Linked DNA regions of Homo sapiens: region 1 is linked to region 2. The links are contacts of gene promoters, found by promoter capture Hi-C in human tissues and cell types (Jung and others, 2019). All regions are on one chromosome and are shown on one strand. Each heading gives the region's core, a stretch centred on a gene start or on the middle of the fragment in contact. The rest is flanking DNA. Distances are from core to core; before and after follow the strand shown. Region 1 overlaps STAU1 (staufen double-stranded RNA binding protein 1). Region 2 holds the start of PREX1 (phosphatidylinositol-3,4,5-trisphosphate dependent Rac exchange factor 1).

Region 1 (4,692 bases), core at 1,128-3,627, 350 kb after region 2:
AGCTGGGATTACAGGCACGTACCACCACACCCAGCTAATTTTTGTATTTTTAGTAGAGATGGGGTTTCACCATGTTGGCCAGGCTGGTCTCGAACTCCTGACCTCAGGTGATGCGCCTGCCTTGGCCTCCCAAAGTGACGGAATTACAGGCGTGGGCCACCATGCCAGCAATTTTTAACAAACCTGATGACACACGATAGCAGTAATTTAGGAGCTGGCCTCCTTTAACACAAAGGTTAATAAGACAGCCCCTCCCCACACACAAACCTGTGGATCAGCTTTAAGTTTTAGCTTAATTTGACATAACAAATAAAAGTAAACTGGAAAGCTATTTCAAGGGTCCATCTAAAAGACTATTACTTAACCAGACTTTCTTTCAAATTGATCTAGGGTTCTAATGAGCAAAATTCATCCTAGCTGCTGCGGTGGGGAGAGTCAGGGGAGGGCCACCAGTGACAAGCAGAATCAATTATCCTAAACAAAAAGCACCTAAGCATAATTTAGAGACAAAGCATGGTTCAGTGGAAAGAACACTGACTTTGGAGCCAGACCAGCCTGTGCTCTAGAACTAATACTTGGTGCCTCAGGACTCTGAGCCAGTTATCTGGCCCCTCGGAAGCGCATCAGCATCCTCAGCAATTATTATGAGCTTTACGCTGCAAAGATGTTTATGAGTATTAGAAATACAACATAAAGGGTCTAAGAAACCCTTTTCTTTGGTTCAAGGAAAGAGCTAAATGAACTGCAACTTTTATATTATTAGGTAAATTCAACCTGACCTTTTAATTCCTTTTCTGCATAAAATAACTTTCACCCTGTAATTCTAACCTGGCACATGGTAAGAGCTCAATAGCAGTAAATATTATTATCCAGCAAATTCACTAAACCTGTCCTTACACATAAACATCTATAAAACTTACAGCAACACTCCACTTGTAAAAAATTTTAAATAGGATCAGAGAATATGCTGACTAAAACCAACCCACTCACTGAGCAACCAGTTCTGTAGCTACATCAAGTATAGGGGCAAGGCCGGGAACAGTGGCTCAAGCCTGTAATCCTATCACTTTGCGAGGCTAAGGCAGGCGGATTGCCTGAGCTCAGGAGTTCGAGACCAGCCTAGGCAACATGGCAAAACCCCATCTCTGCTAAAAATACAAAAAATTAGCCGGGCGTGGTGGTGCTCAATTGTAGTCTCAGCTACTCGGGAGGCTAAGGCAGGAGAATTGCTTGAACCCAGGAGGTGGAGGTTGCAGTGAGCCGAGATGATACCTCTGCATTCCAGCCTGGGCAACAGAGCAAGACTATCTCAACAAAAAAAAAAAAAAAAAAAAAAAAAAAAAAAGCAGAGGCAATCTAATGAAGGTTTAACCCTCAGCAATCATGTTCATTCAGGGGAAAAGACCCCAATGTATTTAAATAGATTTTCTTAGCCTTTATTGTCTGGGAGACATGACACAAAATTTCTATCATAATAAAATGGCCAGTTTTGCTTCCATTACTGTTATAAACCCACATAGTCATCACACTTCTTTCCCAAATTAGATTCCAGATTAAACAGATGCCAGATGGGTTACAGATTTGATATTCAGAAGACTAATTTTTAATCGAAAGCAAACACTTTCTCAAATAGATTTTTCCACTTTTGCTTCCAGTAAATATACTTTGAGGGAGTTCCCTGAGTCTACTTCTTTAACAAATAAACATATGTAATCCCAGAAAATATACAGCAATTAACAGCCTGCAGAAATTTTTCTCTACTTCCATTTATCTGGTGACATAAATCACTGTTACATCAACCTTATTCACCAGTATGGGAATGTAAACACTTAAAAAACAAATTAAGCTATTTGCAGTAATTCCCATTTTACCACTTTAAAAATATTACTTTTCTCTGCAGTAAGGTTTTCTAGTTCAGAGCATTAAGCTGTCAACAAGACAGATATCCAAGCCCATCCATCCCGTGGCATTTGATAAGATCAACACAGCTATATATTTATAATCCTATTATCTCCTTAGCAGGTGAGAACAATGGATTTGGCCAACATTATTCAAGCTTCATAATACTGTATGGTAAAATGTTCATGACAAAGAGCAGAAGGTATGCCGGGCACAGTGGCTCACGCCTGTAATCCCAGCACTTCGGGAGGCCGAGGTGGGCGGATCACAAGGTCAGGAGATCGAGACCATTCTAGCTAACACGGTGAAACCCCATCTCTACTAAAAACACAAAAAAATTAGCCAGGCATGGTGGCGGGCACCTGTAGTCCCAGCTACTCGAGAGGCTGAGGCAGGAGAATGGCATGAACCCAGGAGGTGGAGCTTGCAGTGAGCCGAGATCACACCACTGCACTCCAGCCTGGGTAACAGAGCCAGACTCCGTCTCAAAAAAAAAAAAAAAAATAGTAGACGGTGTTCAGCACCATGAAACAGGGAGGCAAAAATAGAAAGTAGATGGTATCTAAAGAGATGTACAATAAAACTTCATAAACTTTGTTATATGTTTGAAATTTTTCATAATAAAATGGTGGGGGTAAATAACCATAGCAACTAACATGTCCTCTCATAGTTCAACTGATAACTGGCAATTTATATTTTTTGGAACAGCACAAATGGTATACAGCCTTGACTCTGGTGAAGTTTTATTTAAAGAAAAGCTCATGTAGAAAATTACACGAGAAGCATTTCAACCACAAATGTCTCCATCACCAGAAGTCAATGTAAAATAACCTGTTATAGGTCTAGTGTGAAACAAATCTGTCATAAAATTCTCTAAACATTTTTGAAAGCTCTAAAATCCCATTCTGAGAGAAAAGCAACTCCAAAGCTCTTATTTGAGAGGGGAGGAATTTATATTTCCTCAAATTGAACAATTCTGTGTCACTGGGTATCACATCAAATAAGAAGATCCAATTTAGAGGCTCATGAAAACAAGGCCTCTGCCTATAATCCCAGCTACTAAGGAGGCTGAGGTGGGAAGATGACTTGAGCTCAGGAGTTCAAGACCAGCCTGGGCGACAAACTCTGGGATTGACTTGTGGAATCCCACAAAAAGATACCCTTTTCATGAAAGTTTCATCTTTATACTGAATTACACTCTTACTCAATCCAGTAAAAAGGCTCAAAGAAAGTTGCCCCACAAACTGAGACTACCTTGTGGTATTGGGGAGAGAGACTGGATGAAGCAGTATCCATTTTGATAACACCCAGAATGATATCAATGATCTGGACTTTAGAATGGGGATGGAGGAGAGTTCCATGAGTCATGGCCATTTCTAAACTTAAAATACAGTAAATCCTCTCTTAACATAAGGGGTAGGTTCTTGGAAACTGAGACTTCCGACTAACACACGCTTATTGATACAAACAAGAGTTAGGTTCTAGGGCATATTTCTCATCAGAAAAATATCACCAAACTTTTAAATAAAGACCAAACACTTCGAATATTAAACACTGAAATAAATGTGAAGTATACATGCCTTTTTTTTTTTTTTGAGAAGTACTTTTGCTCTTGTTGCCCCGGCTGGAGTGCAATGGCACGATAACCGCTCACTGCAACCTCTGCTTCCCAGGTTCAAGCAACTCTCCTGCCTCAGCCTCCTGAGTAGCTGGGATTACAGGTGCCCGCCACCCAGCCCGGCTAATTTTTTTTATTTTTAGTAGAGACAGGGTTTCGCCATGCTGGCCAGGCTGGTCTCCAACTCCTGACCTCAGGTGATCTGCCCACCTCAGCCTCCAAAAGTGCTGGGATTACAGGCATGGGGTTGCAGTAAGCCGAGACTGCACCATTGCACTGCAGCCTGGGTGACAAGAGCTAAACTCCATCTCAAAAAAAAAAATTTTTTTTTTTACCACTTATTCCAGTTCAGGGTTGGGGTGGCTGGAGCCTATCTCAGCAGCTTAGGGTGCAAGGCCGGAACCAGTCCTGGACAGGACATCCACTGCAGAAAGCACTCACACTTACACACACAGCTCCACACACCAGTGAACCTCACGTGCACAGCTTTGGGATGTGGGAGGAAATCAAGAGTACCCAGAGAAAACCCATGCAGGGATAGGGAGAACGTGTAAACTCCACAGACAGTTTTTTTTCTCAACATTATCTTGAAACAACATTATTCAAGGACCTGCTGTAATCTGTATATACATGGACTTTCTGGCTGAAACCTAAAAGAGAGCAACTTATTCTCAAGAAACTATATTTATGGTAACAATTCTCAATGCTTAAAAGTTTTACGTTAAGCTTAATGGGAAGCACTACACATTTTTAAAAATGTGTTGTGTCCTTTCCCAGATACTAAATTGGCGTTTCTTTCCTAAATCAATTTTAAGAGGTGTATCTTTCCCCATCTTCCAGGTAGTCATAACTAAAACATAACATGTAACATTTCCACTGTACCTGATCAAGCTCAAAGTACACCTACAAAACTCAAATAACAGACCTAAAAGCTGAAAACTATTCACGACCAGAAATTTGAAAGTTATGCAACAAAGACATTTATAATATTTATAATATTCCTGTCAACTTCCATTGTAAGAGAGATCCTTTAGACACAAGAAAGAAAAACGTGAACACTTATGCTGTGATTTCATACTATTCACAAAAATTAAGGTTTCATTCATATTTGCTAAATTTGTTATTTGGAAATAGGGCAGACGGGGGCACTTTGGAAAACAATTCTATGTTAGAAG
Region 2 (4,252 bases), core at 1,372-3,871:
ACATGTCCAAGTCAGAACCAATTCATCTCAGAACTGACACATCAGATACAAAAAGAAAAATGTGATGAAGTCAGCAAATGTAAAGTGTTAAGGAGATAATGTGAAAGTAGAGAAATCTTTTTTTTTCCTGTTTCTTGAATAATAAGAATGGTTGGCTCCAATCAATTTCCATTATTCCAGCTTCCTCCTACTCTACACGTGGACGATTTAAAACCACAGTTAACTCAAACACAATCTAGATCTGTTCTAAAATGAAACACACCATCTAGGGCAGGGGCGTGGGAGGGAGAGGTATATTTTCTTTCCCATTAATATCAAAATTGGTTTGTATTTCCTGTTTCTCTTCCAAGCAGAGGAGCATGGAGTGGCTCAGAAGGAGAAGTCAGGAGTTCCCTAGAATTTGACATTGCTCAGAGACACCAGGGTTGTCTACATGTTTAATTCAAAAACTGCCAGCTTCTAACAGAACAAATTCTTCCCCCACCCCCCACCCCCGAAACTGTGAGAGAAGAAGGGATGGGAAAGAAAGCCAATCCTGCCTTATTCTTACAGGCCTTCCTAGAAGGGTCCTTTAGCCAAATGGTTTTCAATGCTTCTGCACAACCCCCTCTCCCACATCCCCCTGCCCCCAGTACATCTCCTTTCACAGGCAGAAGGGCTCTAGTCTAAGGCTGTCTCCTCCCTGAGCTGGAACTCTGATCTCACACAGCCTCAGCTGCACCCCTAAGCCATGAGGAGCCCCAGAGGACCCCAGAGTCTCCCTCTTTCTCCCAAAGACTAGGAGCTACAAAGCCTGGCTCTAGGGTCTTTGAAAGAGCCACCCCCACACCAGCCCTTCCTGAACCAGGATTAAAAGACTTCCTAGAGCAGAGAAGGGGAGTAAATGAGGCCCCAGCAGGAGGCATGGAGATTAAAGACTTTAGAGTCTCCTAACTTCCATCCAAGGCTCTGCCCCGTCCCACCCCCTCCACCCGCTGGCCACTTTTCTCACTTCCTAGGAGAGTAGGGAAGTGGCCCCTTCCTCCCTCTCACAGAAAAAAAGCAAAAGAAAAATGCAGCATAGAATAGGGGTTTAGAACACCAGCTGGGATAGTCCCGGTTCAAAGCCCAGTACCCCCACTTAATCAGCTGTGCGATCCCAGACAAGCTACCCGGCCCCTCTGGAGCTAAACTTTCCCAATCTTAAAAACGGAGGAGGCAGGACCCAGTAGCTCACGCCTGTAATCCCTGCACTTTGGAGGCCGAGGTCGGCGGATCACTTGAGGCCAGGAGTCCAAGACCAGCATGGCCAACATGGTGAAATCCCCTCTCTGATAAAAATACAAAAATTAGTCGGCCGTGGTGGCTGGCGCGTGCCTGTAATCCCAGCTACTCGGGAGGCTGAGGCAAGAGAATTGCTTGAACCCGGGAGGCGGAGGTTGCAGTGAACCGAGATTGCGCCACTGTACTCCAGCCTGGGTGACTGAGGGAGACTCCGTCTCAAAAAAAAATTTTTTTAATTAAAAATGGGGGAAATACTCGTCCCTACTTCATAGACCGCCTGTGAAGGTTAAACCTGCTAATTAATGACACATGTAAGGTGTCTGGCACATAGTAAGTGGTCGGTTGTTATTTTACAAAGTCTGAGGCCGTGGTTTTGCACTTGGAGATGGGGAGTTGGTGGGGGTGGATGCAGTTAGGGAGCCTGGACTGCCGAGTTTTGAGTTCGAAACCCACTCTCCCCGAACTCCAGCAAAAACCTGTGCATGGGGGATTCTACCCTGGGGTTCTGTCAATCCCCGCCCCTCCTCTGAGCTTCAGGTTTTATCCTACTCCATCAACGCGCAGGGACGTTGGGCTCTGGGGCTCCTACGGTATGTCCTAGATGAGTGGTGCACCGGGCGCGTAGTTATTCCTGGGAAAAAGACGCAGGAGCGCCAGCTCCCGGCGCCGCCGGGGTCCCCAAGCCCCTGCATCGCGGATGTAACTAATTTTAAAACTATTTGAAAGGCGGGGACGGGGAAGAAAAGACAAAAGGGCAGCGCGCGCCGCGGGGAAGTGGAGTGCGGGAGAGCCCCGGTCGGAGCAGGACCGTGCGCCGGCCAGGGAGGGAGGCGACGCGACAGCTCTGGAGGAGCTCGGATCCCCCCCGCTTTCCGCGCGCCCTGCGGGGCGCCCCCGAGGCAATTCTCCACCCACGGGGACCACGGCCACAGGTTGTGGGGACCGCAGCGGGGCGAGCGGCTGGAGGGAAAGCTGTCCCCAAGCTCCCGAGCGACACTCACCGACTGCAAGAAGCGCAAGGTGCCCACGTAGTCCCTCTCGGTGCCCAAGATCTCGTTGAGGACGCAGAGGCGGAGGCGCAGCTGGCGCTCGGACTCCCGGGCGGCCGCGCACGGGCCGGGGCCGGAGCTGGGCGCCGCGGCGCCAGGGGCCCGGGGGTCCGGGTGGGCGCAGTCCCCGGCCCCGTCGCCGCCGGGCTCGCTGCCGCTGGGCGCCTCCATTCTAGCGCGGCCGCGCGGCGCCGGCTCCTTCCGTCGCGCCGAGCGGCAACTCAGGCGTCCAGGCGCCCCATCCCGGACGGGGCGCGCCGGCGGGCCGGGCTCAGCGGCGGGCCGGGCTCCCGGCGCGGCGGGCGGGACTGGGGGCCGGGCGGCTGGGCCGGGGGCGGAGGCAGCGCGCGGGGGCCGGGCGAGGGGCGGGAGGGGGCGGCCCTCGGGGCTCCCAGACGGCTGGCCCCCCGCCCCCGCGCCAGGGACCGTCTGCCAAGTGCCACGCCGCGCTCGGCCGCAGAGGCGCTCTGCGCGTGCACGGGGCCCCTGGGGACGCGGCGCGGCGCTCGGCGCCTCCGTCGGAAGCTCGGGGGTCGGGCGGGAGCCTCCGGAAGGGCCCCGCGGAGCCGGGAGTCCGAGGCCGCGCGCACGCCGAACCGAGCGTACCAACTCCGCGCCCGGACGCGTGGCGCCCCCCCAACCCGCAGTCACCGCGGGCTACGCCACTCCCACCCGGCACACGCGACACCCGCCGCGCGCAGGCTCCTGCTTGCAGGTCCGGCCGCTGCTCGGGCCAAGTAAACACCGGGCTGGGAAAGCTCGCTGCGGAGCCGCTCGGGGGCAAGCCAGCCCCGCCACGCGCGCCTCCGCGGCCCCGGGAAGTCAGGGGCGACCGCTGCCTGGGCAGTGACGGCCCCTCTCTGGGCAGTGACGGCCCCTCCCGGGAACGCCGGGCCCTCGCGGTGCCCTCGGTGCTACCACGACCTTGGGAAGGAACATGCGTGGCGCGCGCTCGCTCTCACTTTTCTCTTTCCCGTTTCCTTTCCCATCTCTCTCTTTCCTTCCTTCCTTTTCTTTCTGAACTTCTTTGCCCCCTGACCCTGCCCTTTCCACCTTTCCCAGAAGAAATTATTACCTGCTCTTGAGTTATTGATCAAGTGGCAGGTACCCTGCCTGCTCCCCCTTCCATCCACCCACCCCATGGGATAAGGCCTTGGGAAACCCAGCTTCTTGTCAGGTTGCTCTGGGCAATGTTGATCATCACCCGCCTTATCGGAAGGTATGGAGAGGGGAGGAAGTTCTGGGGCCTAGAGTCAGCTGCTCAGGTTCAAATCCTAGCTCCCCACTTGCTGGCCGGGTGGCCTTGGGCTGGTTTCCTTGCTTCAAGATCCTCAGTGTTTTCATCAGTATAACGGGAACGATCATGGTACCTAGCTCCAAGGTCCTCCCCGGGGTTCCATGGGAAGTACTTAGCACCTAGAAAGTTCTCTGTAAATGTTTGTTCTTACTATTATTGCATGTGTGAAGCCCAACACCTAGAAAGTTCTCTGTAAATGTTTGTTCTTACTATTATTGCATGTGTGAACGGCCCTCTAAGCCTGGCCCCACTCTCAAATGGCCCATACAATCCCTAATCACCCGTGTTTCCGGACCAGAGATTGTATCGTCTCTGCAGGGGATAAAGTGATCCACATAGTATCCGCCTCTAGACTGTAGTCATTTTATGGACAGAAACATTGCTTATTTATTCCTGTTCCAAAAGCCTAGGATTTTCCTCCCATTGGCCTCTCAATACTGTAAGTGCCTAAGGACACAGGGAGAGAATGGGGTGGCTTCTGCCCTCTCTGACTTCTTTCTTTGGGATCATGGGCAAGGTAGCATTTGATCTGGGCCTTGGGCTGAGTGAAGTTCCCCTGGGCAGGGAGTAAAGGACATGAGATAGGTGAGCCTGTCACGCTTGGGTAGTGGAGTCAATTGTGTCCAAAGGTAGCTGGTTTTTT

Evidence for each region. The method cuts DNA at HindIII sites, captures the fragments that hold promoters and counts their contacts. A contact is called where the count stands out against the background at its distance.
Region 1: a fragment that was not itself captured here is called in contact with the fragment with the promoter of PREX1 in region 2 in 1 of the 25 tissues and cell types used here (hippocampus).

What each region holds. Positions count from the first base shown.
Region 1 is chr20:49,180,453-49,185,144 of GRCh38, forward strand. The region is part of intron 1 of STAU1 (staufen double-stranded RNA binding protein 1); the gene reads right to left. Among named protein-coding and RNA genes, the nearest start is that of STAU1, 5.5 kb to the right of the region's middle. RefSeq lists an enhancer at 11-539. The HindIII fragment of the contact is 6,066 bases long and covers 1-4,692 here.
Region 2 is chr20:48,825,378-48,829,629 of GRCh38, forward strand. It overlaps PREX1 (phosphatidylinositol-3,4,5-trisphosphate dependent Rac exchange factor 1), which reads right to left and starts at 2,622. Exons shown (of 40, transcript NM_020820.4): 1 at 2,265-2,622. The coding sequence starts at 2,483. RefSeq lists silencers at 2,116-2,185, 2,596-3,275. The HindIII fragment of the contact is 14,754 bases long and covers 1-4,252 here.